4 separate regions of the Homo sapiens genome follow, and all the other regions are linked to region 4. Evidence: promoter capture Hi-C in 16 types of primary human blood cells and fetal thymus (Javierre and others, 2016). All regions are on one chromosome and are shown on one strand. The core of a region is centred on a gene start or on the middle of the fragment in contact, and the rest is flanking DNA. Distances in the headings are between cores, read along the strand shown. Region 1 overlaps NALCN (sodium leak channel, non-selective). Region 2 overlaps NALCN (sodium leak channel, non-selective). Region 3 overlaps NALCN-AS1 (NALCN antisense RNA 1). Region 4 holds the start of NALCN-AS1 (NALCN antisense RNA 1).

Region 1 (3,405 bases), core at 906-3,405, 420 kb before region 4:
GTATCTTCTAGAGCCAGAAGAGGGCACTGCAGAGCAGTGTAGCTCTGAGCTCTTTATGTTTAGCACAGTCTAGGAATGCCCTTTGCCAAAAAAAATTCGCAAAGCTTTACTATAGAAGTAAGAAAAAAGAAGGGAATAACTAGATAATCACTATAGGCCTTCTTTATTTAGTAGAAAAAAGAAAGTATATAACGATCTAAATACATATCTAGGACATCAAATGTAATATCATATATATATGTATAAGTAGATGAAAGAAGACATATATATGTGTGTGTGAGTCCTTTCCTTCTTTTAAGAACATCCCAAAGGCCAGGTGTGGAGGCTCACACCTGTAATCCCAGCACTTTGGGAGGCCAAGGTCGGTGGATCACTTGAGGTCAGGAGTTTGAGGCCAGCCTGGCCAACATGGTGAAACCTCGTCTCTACTAAAAATACAAAAATTAGCCGGTGTGGTAGTGCATGCCTGTAATCCCAGCTACTAGGGAGGCTGAGGCAGGAGTATTGCTTGAACCCAGGGGGCGGAGGTTGCAGTGAGCCGGGATCACACCACTGCCCTCCAACCTGGGCAACAGAGTGAGACTCTTTCTCAAAAAACAAAACAAAACAAAAGAACATCCCAAAGCTAAATCTGATGTTTTTCTATTATAATATTGATTCTCCTGCTACCTCTGGCATTAGTTATAAAAACAGTTCTCAAGTACTCTCCTGTATGAATTAATACTGTATTTTGTCTTAGTTCAAATTCAGGACAAAGGCCATTCAGTAGCCTTTTAGCAATCTTGTGCAGGGCAGAAATCATTTAGGCAATAGTGTACCAGATATTATCCCAAAAGTTTTTCCTAACGTGAAATTGCAGGGGCAGTAGATAAGTGATTGGATTCAGACTCTCATCTTCCACTGAAGGAAAGACAACTAACACATGTCATTGTCCTTTCAAGATGAAATAAGAGTTGTGGAATCTGGAGTCCTCTCTTAAAACTCACTGTCACAGGACCTCTGTGCCTGGGTCTGTCTCAGGACTATGTGTGTTCTTAGGTGTCTAAAGAGCAGATGCTCCACGATGATGGGGCCACCAGCTGAGTCTTCCATCTCCAAAAGCGGCTCCAAGCAGCTTTCCTTAGGAGCTGAGCTGTCAACTCAAGAGAGGTTAAATCCATGTCAAAAGTCAACTTTTGGCCGGGTGTGGTGGCTCATGCCTGTAATCTCAGCACTTTGGGAGGCTGAGGCAGGTGGATCACAAGGTCAGGAGTTCAAGACCAGCCTGGCCAATATGGTGAAACCCCATCTCTACTAAAAATACAAAAATCAGTCGGGCATGGTGGCGGGCACCTGTAGTCCCAGCTACTCGGGTGGCTGAGGCAGGAGAATCGCTTGAACCCAGGAGGTGGAAGTTGCGGTGAGCTGAGATTACGCCACTGCACTCCAGCCTGGATGGCAGAGCAAGACTATCTTAAAAAAAAAAAAAAAATTATGCCAAAAGTCAACTCTTTCAGGAGGGGAGAAGTAGGAAAGTTTCAAGATTTATCATTGGAAATAGCATGTATGTGCTACCAAGAAAATGGAAGTTCCAAATAGTTGGTATCCACTCTTGTCTCCTTGTCCATACATTAATTTTTCTCCTAAGAGTTCTAGTGAATAATGAAACCAATTCCGGTTTTTCATTTTTGAGCAGAAAAATGAACAAACCACCTTTCCTCATGAGGGGGAAATCACCAGTATGTTCAGTGATGCTGATCTTTACTACATATCTGCTGTAAAATATGAAAAGTGGATTGCTAGTTTTGATGTTATCTAGGTTATCATTTGTGACTAAAAAGACCTGTTTGTTACTCTGGTTCTTCTCCACTATGGCTTTATGGACACACTGACTGACATTATAGCATTTGTTCATAGCTTTGTTTGTAGAATGGGGTGCTGTGAGTTTGTACCTCAACATACCTAACCCTTGTTGAAAAGAAACTAACTAGGTGATCTATTTTTACTGAATACAGAGTTTTCTGTCTTCTGAGGGTTTTCTTTCCCCCCTCAACTTTGTTTGACACACAGTATGCCCTGTAGGGCTTCTTGCCTGGTTTCAAGATCTGGCTAGCACAGCACTTATACAGGTAGTTTGTACCAAATTAACTTGCCCTGTGCACACATGTCCACTTCAGTCCTTCACCCAGTACCGCCTTTGCCTCTAGGAATCTTAGCCTTCCTTCAAGGCCCAGTATAACCTCCACTTTTTCATTGAAGCCTTTGCCGACTAGTCCAGACTTGCTGTTCCACCGCAGAGAGCTCCAGCCCCTCTGATCTTGTGTTTTCTCCTTTACGTATCATCTAGCACTGTGCCATCTACTGCACTGTACTTGTCACTGATGATCTCATGTGTCCTACCCTTGTCTTCCTATCTAGGCTATTCACTTCTAGAAACCAAGAACTCCAAATTCTATTTACCCTAAATCTCCTATGGTCACTAATATCATGCTAAGTGCTCAGTAAATCTAATCTATTGATCAAAATGAACAGGTCTCAATTACTATCTTCAGTCTGACTACTGGAGTTACACTTTCCTGTTATTTATTATTTATTCTAGTTATTTATTATTGTGAATCTAGTTATTTATTTATTATTATGAGAACATAGTGGCCCATTTGCCTGTTTTCTCTTTGCCCTTCTTCTGCCTGCTTTAACTCCTTGTACACCTTCCACCAATCTAAAATCTGCAACTAGCAAGCCACACAGAACTGAGCTTGGGGAGTATATCTTTGAATTTACAGTCAGCATCCAGGATGGTTTTCTCCTTAGTTCTCTTCTCTGGAGTAATTTTATCATCGCCAACTAGGAAGAGATCTTGAATGCCCATTTCATTCATTCCCCACACCTGCAAGCAAAACAACTCCTAAACTCATTGTTCAGATTAGTGTTAGGTTACAGGCCAAGAACCTGCAGCAGACATAATGTGGATTAGAGAACATTGCGCTAATCAAAGACAAATAAGGAGTCCAGTATGAGGGTCAACGTTAAAGTCTTTGGAAACTGAAAATTTTATTCAGACGAAGGCCATTATCAGAGTGAGGCACAGCCAATGCACCATCCGTGGCTGGGACGTGGGGCCCCACAAGTTTGTTCATGGTGCTGCCCAAATAAAAGTAAAAATAGACAAGAATTGTCAATTGTACGATGATGCTTTAGCGAAACATATTCATGTTTCATGTTTTAACAATGTCATCTATTGAATGATTTGACAGTATATTATTTCTTAACATTCCAAAACTAAAAGTCATACTCTTATCATTTTCAGCTTCGCAAGTCTGTTTTCAGCATCAGGGCAAGGAACCTTCTGGAAAAGGAGACCGCAGTCACTAAAATCTTAAGGTAACACCAATTAATGTTGACACATATTTAAACACAAGTGGGATT
Region 2 (3,281 bases), core at 499-2,998, 390 kb before region 4:
TATGATCTCACCACTGTACTCCAACCTGGGCAACAGAGCGAGAGCCCTGTCCCTAAAAAGAAAACAAAATAATAATAAGGTGTTTACACTCCCTTGGCAAGCATGTGGTACCAGTGGCTGACAAGCCTAGTTTAAGAACTCCCTATAAAACCCTAAGAATTCTCTTCCCACAAACCCCTTTTTGCTTAAGCATGTGATATGTCTCTTCTGGCTAGAAAGGTTAATAAGATGAAAAGCACACCTCAGAGAATGTCACTCTTCCCTCCTATTCCAGTGTCAACCCACTGTTGACAACTTGAGTGTGGTCACCCAAGATTCCAGCTGTTTACAGCTGTAAGCTTTGGATACTTTCCCTTGAGGTCTTAGCTAACTTGATCCTTCCTTTGTTGTCACATAAGACTCATATCAGCAAACAGCCCCATGCAAAAATGTCCAAGAAGCAGCGTTTGGTTCTCACCACTTTTTATTGCTTCCCCACTCTCAGCTTTCTCCCCATTAGAAAGCCAGTGCCTTTACATTAGCTCTAGCTGCCCAGAATCTCCCTCTTTATGACAACCAACAAGGACCTCCACAAAGACCCAAACTTGAATACTTGCACTACGGCGTTTCTTTCTCTTTCTTCAGTCATTGGTTATAAGGGAAGGCTAGCTGCTGTAACAAGCCCAATATTTCGGTAGCTTCACATAATGAAATGTATATATTGCATCTTGGATCAGTTGCAATATATACATTTGCAATATATACACTATATACAGCTCTCCTCCAAATGACCACTCAGGGACTCACATGCCTTCTATCCTATGCCGCCACCCTTTGCCATGTCTTCAGAGCCTTCTTCAATGAGCTGGAGATAACAGTGGAGAGCCATCTCCAACTGAGTGGGCTGTGGGAGAATCTGCTCCACCCACATTCCTCTGTAAAGAGCAGAGATACTGCAAGGGGGGCTGGAATTTAGTTGTGTGCTCCAGAAAAATAAAAGGGGGACACAGTTTGGTTAATAATTAGACAATTTTTGTAATATCATAAAGTGTCCCATTCTCTTAGGATTCTTATGTTACAAGTAAATTCATAAAGTAAACCAACCACTGCTGATGTATAAACTAGAAAAGCATTTTCTCTTTGATCCCAATAAAATGATGCCTCAGTTCCTAAATGTATATCTTCAAAAGGCCTACTAGACCTGAACTACATTATTTATTTCTAGCAAATATGGCTATCTAGTATAGATTTTAAATGATACAAATTGTTCTCTAATTGTGACAAAATACAGGTAACATCTTTGTTCAGCCAAAATACATTATAAATTATATTAATAATGAGAATTTGAAACAAAGGCCAGACTGGGAGAGACATTCCAAGAGCTTTGATACACCTGAGAAGACAGAACAAGGAATGTGGCCTGACGGTCATGCCGTATCAAATTAGCTGATAAAGAAAGTGACAGAGACCTGACGCATTCATCCACAAGCTTGTGTGTGGAAAGAAGAGTGATTTTTGATCCACACTGAACAGAGGCCAGAAAGATAATAACACTTCAGGATGAAGCCTGCTAGGAATCTTGGATGACTCAGTATATTAACAGTGGCCTAAGAGCATGGTGATTTTACATTATCCACTCATACCCAGCCAAAGCTGAAGATTGATGGTGACAGCAGCCAGCAGATGAGCATAGACACAGATTTCATGATGCATTTATCCTGTTTCCTAGAGCAGTGAGGTCTGTGCGAGGCTCAGATGGAAAGCCTAAGGAGACTCAGCCATCATAGAGAGCACCAGCACCAAGCAGAACGATTGAAAAGAAATTGGCACGGTGAGACGGGGCTTGAGTCTTTTTGTCTTCTCAAATCCAAACATAAGAGGCCGAGGCCGAGGCCAAAAACGCCATGAGTGAAGGTGACGTCGGCTGAAGTTCTGTTGGAGAACTTCAGCCCATCTTACTAAAAGAAGAGATAAATCCAAAGAAAGGGGGAAAGTAGATACACCAACATTTAGATCACACACAGTTCCTGTTAAAGACAACGAAGCTTCAGTTGCTGCGCCCATAGTTTCCAGTTGGGAAGATGTGTTTTCTTGTATGAGGCTGAGCACTTCCTCCCTCTGCTCCTTTGTTTGTTGTCTTAAAACTCAACAGATGTCATGAGATCAATATAGATATAGATATGGAGCCTAGGACTTTGTCACCAAAACCCTGTAAACAAACGCTGAGGATACCTTTTGACAAATAGTCATTAAATGTCAGTTGTGTCCAAGGCACTGTGATAGGTGAAATGAAATGTGGAAGGGAAACATTAGGAGGTCCTTGCTTCTGTTTTGTGGCATTTTCTGTCCAATCAGAACGTGTTTCATGTTCAAGCAACAGTAATATAAAGTCAGCAGTTTTCAAAAGCCTATGAGAAGCAGAAATAACATGTAATCTATGATGTCAGCATGGGAAATTGTGCTTCCAACTGGGAGTACTGTACTGGGAGGGCTTCAGGGAGGAGGTGGGATTTGAGATGAGCAGGAAAGGACCTTCCAAGGAGAGCAAGCAGTGAAGAAGGACACGGAGCATACAAAGAAGGGTCACAGTGTAGAGGCAGGGACCGAACAAGGAGGAAGGAGCATGGGCTTCGAAATCACAGCTTCTGAGATTGGAATCCTACTTCAGGAGAGGTGATGGCCTGGTCTGGTCACTTAATCCTTCTGGAACCTATTTCTGCCTTGAATGCTTCTCACACAATGATATTATGAAGATTAGATTACCTTGTTTATGCGAAGTACCTAACCTGATCTCAACAGTGAGTGTTAATTTCATTCCCGCCCATGTAGGAAAAAACTGAAGAACAAGGCCAGAAATGTAAGTTAGGGAGAGATCCTCAAGTGCCTGAAATGCCTGGCTAAGGGGTTTGGAATTTCGTTGATGAGAAGTGAGAAACCACAAAAGGTTGGTAAGAAGAGGAATCAGACACATCCTAGTGCCCACAAAGTACAAAGCACCATTCCTAGTGCTGTTTTTGTTACCCATATCCTAATGAGGATATCCATTCCTAATGAGGAAAACAGGTGTAGAAAGATTAAATAATTTGTCCAAGGTCACCCACCTAATAAGTGGAGAAGCAGGGAACTAGTGTCCAGGCACCCTGGCTTTTCACCAAGATACCAGACTGCTTCATGCAATCAAAGGTGGGCTCAGGTGGGTTCAGGAAGACAAATTGGAAAAGGCAGTGAGGCCAAATATGTCAAGGGACCTTTATACAATACACTACAACACAGCCTTTCCAAATAATGTTCTACATAAAAAG
Region 3 (3,399 bases), core at 127-2,626, 290 kb before region 4:
GCATGGCTGACAACAAGCCTTTTAACTACACGTCCTACAATAAACAAGAAAGCAGGCCTCATATGTTCCCTAAAACTTTATTACGGTGCTAACCTTTCTACAAGAAATGGCATTTTGGAAATGCCACATGCATTTTAACTCTTGTTCCAGTTACTGATGGCAAGAATGACCTATCAACAAAGACAGAGGATAAAGAGTCTCATCATTACCCATATACTAACAACAGTCATTCGGGGTTATTACAACCCCATTTTTCACTCAGGGCAATGCCATTTTATTTGTCAAATTGCTTTAATAAATATTACTTTCTATCACTACCAGAGAACAGAAGTGTCCTGGGATACTTTAAGTTACAAAGTCCTATAGGGACTTTACTTCCAGTATCTTCCTGTATCTCTTTTCTTAAATTTTCTCTTTTCAGGTTGATCAGCAGGAATTGCTCTAAATGTCCAAGTCCAGATTCACATACAAGTAAAGGAAGAATGGAGAATTTTTTTTCTCCTCAAATATCTCTTCAAAACATTTGCAGAGATTCTAAAAAGAGGGGAAATCTTCTTGTCTATTCTAGTCTGAAGAACAATCTACAGGTAAAAAAATCTCCCCTGGACCAGGCAGATTGGGAAGGATGTAATTAGCATAATGAATAGGTTCAAAAGACTCTTGCTGAATCATTCAAATTAGCCAAATCAACTCTGACCACTAAACCAGATGATAGTTGAAGCTTCTAATGTGGTCAGCATTTGGAACTGCCAAGGGTTCAAGTCCAAGAGCCCCATTTTAATAAATACTCTAGCAAATACATTTATGTTTTATTCATCAAACACCAATTGAGATGTAAATATTTATGTCAACCACGACCATAGGTTGTAGGAACAACGATGAACAAGACACCGACACCAAGTAATTGCCAAGTCAGTTCCCATTCCTGATGGGGCACAGAGATCAATAAAGGAGAGCAAGGGGCTTTGGGGTGTTTCATGTTAGGGGATGTTGTCATTTTACACATGGTGGTCAGAGATGTCTTCTGGGATAAAATGACATTTCAGTAAAGACCCAAAGGACGGGAGAAAGTTAGCCATGTGAATGATGAATTCAGAGCAGACATCTACCTTGCCTCCTTACTTGTCTTTAAAAGCAAAGTTTCTGTCACTTATGTTTATCTTATTTTGATATGGAAAATAGAGGATAAGCAAAAATATTATTTTTCTTCTACTGCATCAATTTTTAACTTTCAGAAGCTAATTGCCTATTTGCATCTTCTCACTTCTGCCAAGTCACTTCACGATTCATCACACACAGAAAAAGTCACCAACAATCTTGGTCCTTGAGAGGACATGCCGTCAGGATCAACTCAGCGACTGCGTACTGCACTCCAGCTGGAAGGCTGGATAAGAAATGCATGAGTGGGACATGAGAACTTACTGGATTTTCTTCATGCTTTCCTTGAAGCCTCTTGCCATAGATGCTCCATTTAGCTGAATCTCAGCCTACACATGCATCATAGAACCAGGGATGACAGCCAGCAATACTTTTAGGGGCCAGAACAAGTTTTCATTTCTTTTAAAATGAGAAGAAAAAAATGAAGTTTGAGTTTTTTCAAGAGTCTTCATTTGGACACTTAGTTCTGATTCTGTGGTCCTCTTCCTTTCTAATGGAGGTATTTAGGATACAGCCATCTTTCCAGTTTTAACTGCATCCCATGAGTTGTGTTCCGTAACACTGGTGCTATCATTCACTTCCAGATATTTTTGGATTTTCATAATGGACTCTTCTTTGACCCATGGGATACTTAAAATTGTGTTTTAAAATTTTAAATTATGGATAAGGATTAATATTTTATATGGCTTTCTAATTTGATTGCACTGTGGTATGATTGCACCGAGGGAACATGGCATGTTTGATATCAGTTTTTGGCATTTATTAAAATTTGCTCTAGTGTCACTATTTAGGAAATTGTTTCATGTGTCATGAAAGTTCAAGAATTCTTTACATGTTGGGAGCAAGGATGTGTATCCATTATATTAAGCTTTCAAATTTTAATCTCCCATATCCTGCCTAGTATTTTTGTTTATACTATGAATTACTGAGCACGGCATGCCAAATCCCTCATCATGACTGTAGATCTGTCCACTTCCAAATGTCATTTAAAATGTTTGCATCATACAGAGCCAAGTGGTAACATGGGTGGAAACAGGTTTAGAATTCTAGTATCTTACTAGAGATTTTTCTTTTTTTCTCTTCGTATAGTGATTGTCTCTCTCCTAAATTTTGTTTTCTCATTAAAGTCTGTGTGGCCTGGCATTAACACTGCCAGCCACTCCGGTTAATATTTTCCTGGAATAATGTTTTCAGTTTCAACTCAACCTTTTCCTATTCCATATTTTAGGATTAATTCTCACAAATAGCATTCACAGTTAACTCAAAACAAAACTATTATTCACTGATTATTCTGTGCCAGGTACAGTTCTAGGCAAAGGGAGAACAGAAGTGAACTAAACAAAGTCCCTGCAATCAAGGAGTTTACAGTCTACAAGGGGCAGTCAGAGGGCAGGAGAGGAAGAAAGACAACAACTAACAAGGTAATACAAGAGGTATGAAGAAAAACAAATTAGAGTAAGAGGGTATGGGGGAGTGGGAGGGCGTACTGTTTTGTGGAGGGTAGTCAGTGAAGAACTTGCAGATACAGTGGTATTTGAGAAGCCAGGGAAACCAGGGAGCAAGCCAGGGAAATACCTAGGAAAACAGACCCCAGGCTTAAGGAAGAGCTGGGGAACAAGCCCACAGTCAAAAGTAGGCTTGGGTACACTTGGAGATAGCAGGTGGCCAATCCCACTTCTGTAAGTAGAGTGAAGGGTCACAGGGAGAGCACAGGAGAGGAGGTCTGGGGTGGGCCAGCGAGATGGAGGGACAGCTCCCAAAAGGTCTTGAGGTGACGATAAGGATGCTGGACTTTCCTCTGAGTGAAATGGAGTGGACGAGTGACCAGATCTGATTTGCATTGAAGAACACATTATTACAATATTCCAGGTGAGAAACTTCCATGGATGGCTGAGCGGGGTGGGGGGCAGCACTGAAAGTAGGGAGCCACGGTCAGATTCTAAATGTATCTTGAAGGCAGAACCAAGATGATTTGCTGTTGGGTTGGATGTAAGATGTGATGGAAAGGGCACATCAAGGATGACTCCAGGGTGATTAGAAGAATTGAATAGCCATTTTATGAGATGCAAGACTGCAGGAGGAGCAAGTTTAAGAAGAAGACCCGGAGTACGGTTTGGAAATCTTGTTGGGTTGGGAGGAGGCTTAAAAACCAACACCTCAATTCCAATTTCTGGTTTGAAACCAAAGGTTTCTAGGGCCAAGCAAAGAGATCTACCATCACCTTTCTTACTAAAGATGTTT
Region 4 (3,117 bases), core at 548-3,047:
GAACCTAGGTGTGTGATAGGCTATACCATCTAGGTTTGTGTAAGTGTATGATGTTTGCACGTGAAGAAATTGCCTAATGATGCATTTCTCAACATATCCCCATCAGTACGCAACACATGATGATATACTATATATATATATAAGATTGTATATGCACATGGTCCCCAACTTATGATGGTTTGACTTAGGATTTTTTGACTTTACAATGGTGCAAAAGTGAAATGCGTTCAGTAGAAACTGTAGTTTGAGTACTCATACAACCATTCTGTTTTTCAATAAATTACATGAGATAGTAAGTACTTTATTATAAAATAGGCTTTGTGTTACATGATTTTTGCCCACCTATAGGCTAACGTAAGTGTTGAGCACATTTAAGGTAGGCTAGGCTAAGCTATAATGTTTGGTAGTTTAGGTGTATTAAATGCATTTTCGACTTACAATATCTTCAAATTATGGTGGTTTATTGGGATGCAACCCCACCAAAGTTGAGGAACATCTCTCTATATACAATCTTACTGGTTTTAGAAAGAATGTCTGAGGCACTTTTGCTCTTTGATTTTCCTCTGGAGAATTGCATGATGCATAGAATGCTCATGTTCAACACACACTCGTGGGATTCCCTGCATTTAGGTGACAATAATTTATAATCACCGCAGCTATTTGTTAATGCTTCAGTAATAGTCTGTCCTTACTGGTTGAAACATCAATAAAATAGAGTTATGCACAGTTCACCCACAGCAGCCTGCTCTTTCTCTGCAACTTTTATTCAAAAAGCATGTCAGCATATTTAAAAAGTAGTGACCAATCATTAGTTTTGTCAAGTCAATCATCTCCAACTGATAGTGACGCAACTCCAGTTTAGTGTTCTTTAGAATTACCTGGAGAAGTAATTATTGGGAACATACAGGCTCCTAGGCTACAACCCTAAGAGCTTCCCATTTATAGCATTTCAGGTAGCCCAAGAATCTGCATTTTAGCAAGTACTCTAGGAAATATGAAGCTATTTGGAAAACCTTATCTTAGAGATACTTTATTGTTAATACAACTTCCAGAGGTATTAGCTAGAAGTGCCCAATCAAGGCTCTGGATGGTGGGGGTGAAGAAAAGGAAGAAAAGAAAGTCATATGCTCCTTCCAAAACTAGTTCCTCTTGGCTAACCAGTTGTTATGGGCTGAATTGTGTCTTCCCCAACCCCCAAATTCCTATATTGAAGCCCTAACGCCCAGTACCTCAGAATGCGACTGTATTTGGAGACAGGGCCTTTAAAGAGGTAATTAATTTAAAATGAAACCATGAGGGTTAGCCCTAACACAATCTGACTGGTGTCCTTATAAGAAAAGGAAATTTGGACACAAAGAGAGATACCAGGGATGTGTGCACACAGAGGAAAGACCACGTGAGGACACATTGAGAAGGCAGCCATCTGCAAGCCAAGCAGAGAAGCCTCAGAAGAAACCAGGCCTGCTGACACCTTGAAAGAATACGTTTCTGTTGTTTACGCTCCCCTGTCTGTGGTATTTTGCTACAGCAGCCATAGAAAACTAATACACCAGCTGAAATGAGTCAGTTCTCACACTGCTATAAAGAACTACCTGAGACTGGGTAATTTATAATGAAAAGAGGTTTAATTGACTCACCGTTCCACAGGCCACACAGGAAGCATGGCTGGGAAGGCCTCAGGAAACGTACAATCATGGCAGAAAGCAAAGGGGAAGCAGCACTTCTTACCAGGGCAGGAGCAGGAGGAAGAGCGAAGGGGAAGGTGCCGCCCACTTTTAAACAACCAGGTCTTGCGAGAACTCACTCCCTATCACAGGAACAGCCAGGAGGAAGTCCGCCCCCATGATTCCATCCCCTCCCACCAGGCCACTCCTCCAACACTGGGGATTACAATCTGACAGAGATTTGGGTGGGGACACAGAACCAAACCATATCACCAGCTCTCTGTGCCTGCCTCTCACAGTTGGCTCACAGCCTGCAGAGCTGGTGTGCAATGTGTCATCATGATTTAACTCTCTTCATTTTCCCACCTAGGATGCCAGAAATCAGGGCCGCAAAGCCCACTAATGTTCCTTTGTGGGTGAGTCACAGGTTTGTGGGAGAGAGAAACTGGAAATCAGCTCATCAACCACTGAGCTAAAACAATTGTGCCAATGAGGGTCTGACCTAACCTCTCACTCTTGCGTAAATGATGGAAGAGAGAGACACCTGAGGTTTTGAGGCTCAGCTATCAGAAGCTGACTCAGCTCGATAAAGCCTCTTCATCAGCAGTTACATGCAGCAGGTCATACAACTGATTGATCTAACTGGAATCCCTCAAGTATTCCACAGGCACCAATGATATACTAGCCAATAACCCCACTGCGAGACAGAGTCCATGGATTCAAAGTCTTATTGCCAAAGTTAGGATCTGTAATCCCTTTCTACTTATTTTGAAATATGCTGCTGCACTTCAGCGAAATCTGATAACATTCTGGCAGGTATTATAAAATTAGTTGAATAATATTAGCTTAATTAGATTAATTGCTTGCTGTGATTATCTAGGGAATTTCATCCTTATCTTCATTCTCCTTTCTCAGCTCTTTCCTTCCCTCATGCTTCCCTATGGGTGGTATATTCAAGATTGCAGGACACTGAGTGAATGGGAGAGGGAACAATTGCTGAGATGAGTGTCACTAAAGACATTCACCTGCGCTCTCGCTCTCCTTCATACCCCTCTGGGCTACTGTGCCCCACCTCCAAGGGAGCCAGCATCACCACTGGGAGAGACATGGGGACTCATATGAAGCTGGAAATGAAGGAGAGGCTCGTCTGGGATGAAGGTGAATGAGACAGTAAGATACAGCTGTGTAAAAAGAAAAGGGAATGGTAAAGAATGGAGTAGAAGAGAAGAAAGTTTCATCAGAGGGTAAGAGAAGGAGGAAAGAAGAGTTTTGTGGACGGATTGAAGACATGTTGAAGTCTTAACCCCCAGAACCTGCGAATGCGCCCTCATTTGGAGATAGGGTCTTTGCAGATGGAATCAAGTTAAAATGAGGCTATACTGGATGAGGGCGGGCCCTTATCCAACACGACTGCTGTCCTTCTAAGAAGAGAAAAATTTGAACACAGACACAC

What was found. Contacts are between HindIII fragments. The CHiCAGO score rates a contact against its expected background, and 5 or more counts as called.
Region 1: a contact is called between a fragment that was not itself captured here and the fragment with the promoter of NALCN-AS1 in region 4, in 1 of 17 cell types (endothelial precursors). The highest score is 5.8, in endothelial precursors.
Region 2: a fragment that was not itself captured here is called in contact with the fragment with the promoter of NALCN-AS1 in region 4 in 1 of 17 cell types (endothelial precursors); the score reaches 7.2 in endothelial precursors.
Region 3: a contact is called between a fragment that was not itself captured here and the fragment with the promoter of NALCN-AS1 in region 4, in 1 of 17 cell types (endothelial precursors). The highest score is 6.1, in endothelial precursors.

The regions. Positions count from the first base shown.
Region 1 is chr13:101,124,563-101,127,967 of GRCh38, reverse strand. NALCN (sodium leak channel, non-selective) reads left to right here. Exons shown (of 44, transcript NM_052867.4): 18 at 3,287-3,360. Among named protein-coding and RNA genes, the nearest start is that of LINC00411, 180 kb to the right of the region's middle. The HindIII fragment of the contact is 4,097 bases long and covers 107-3,405 here.
Region 2 is chr13:101,097,370-101,100,650 of GRCh38, reverse strand. All of the region lies in intron 27 of NALCN (sodium leak channel, non-selective), which reads left to right. Among named protein-coding and RNA genes, the nearest start is that of LINC00411, 150 kb to the right of the region's middle. The HindIII fragment of the contact is 556 bases long and covers 1,471-2,026 here.
Region 3 is chr13:100,996,862-101,000,260 of GRCh38, reverse strand. All of the region lies in intron 2 of NALCN-AS1 (NALCN antisense RNA 1), which reads right to left. Among named protein-coding and RNA genes, the nearest start is that of LINC00411, 54 kb to the right of the region's middle. The HindIII fragment of the contact is 1,305 bases long and covers 724-2,028 here.
Region 4 is chr13:100,707,005-100,710,121 of GRCh38, reverse strand. NALCN-AS1 (NALCN antisense RNA 1) reads right to left here and starts at 1,797. Exons shown (of 8, transcript NR_047687.1): 1 at 1,729-1,797. The HindIII fragment of the contact is 7,868 bases long and covers 1-3,117 here.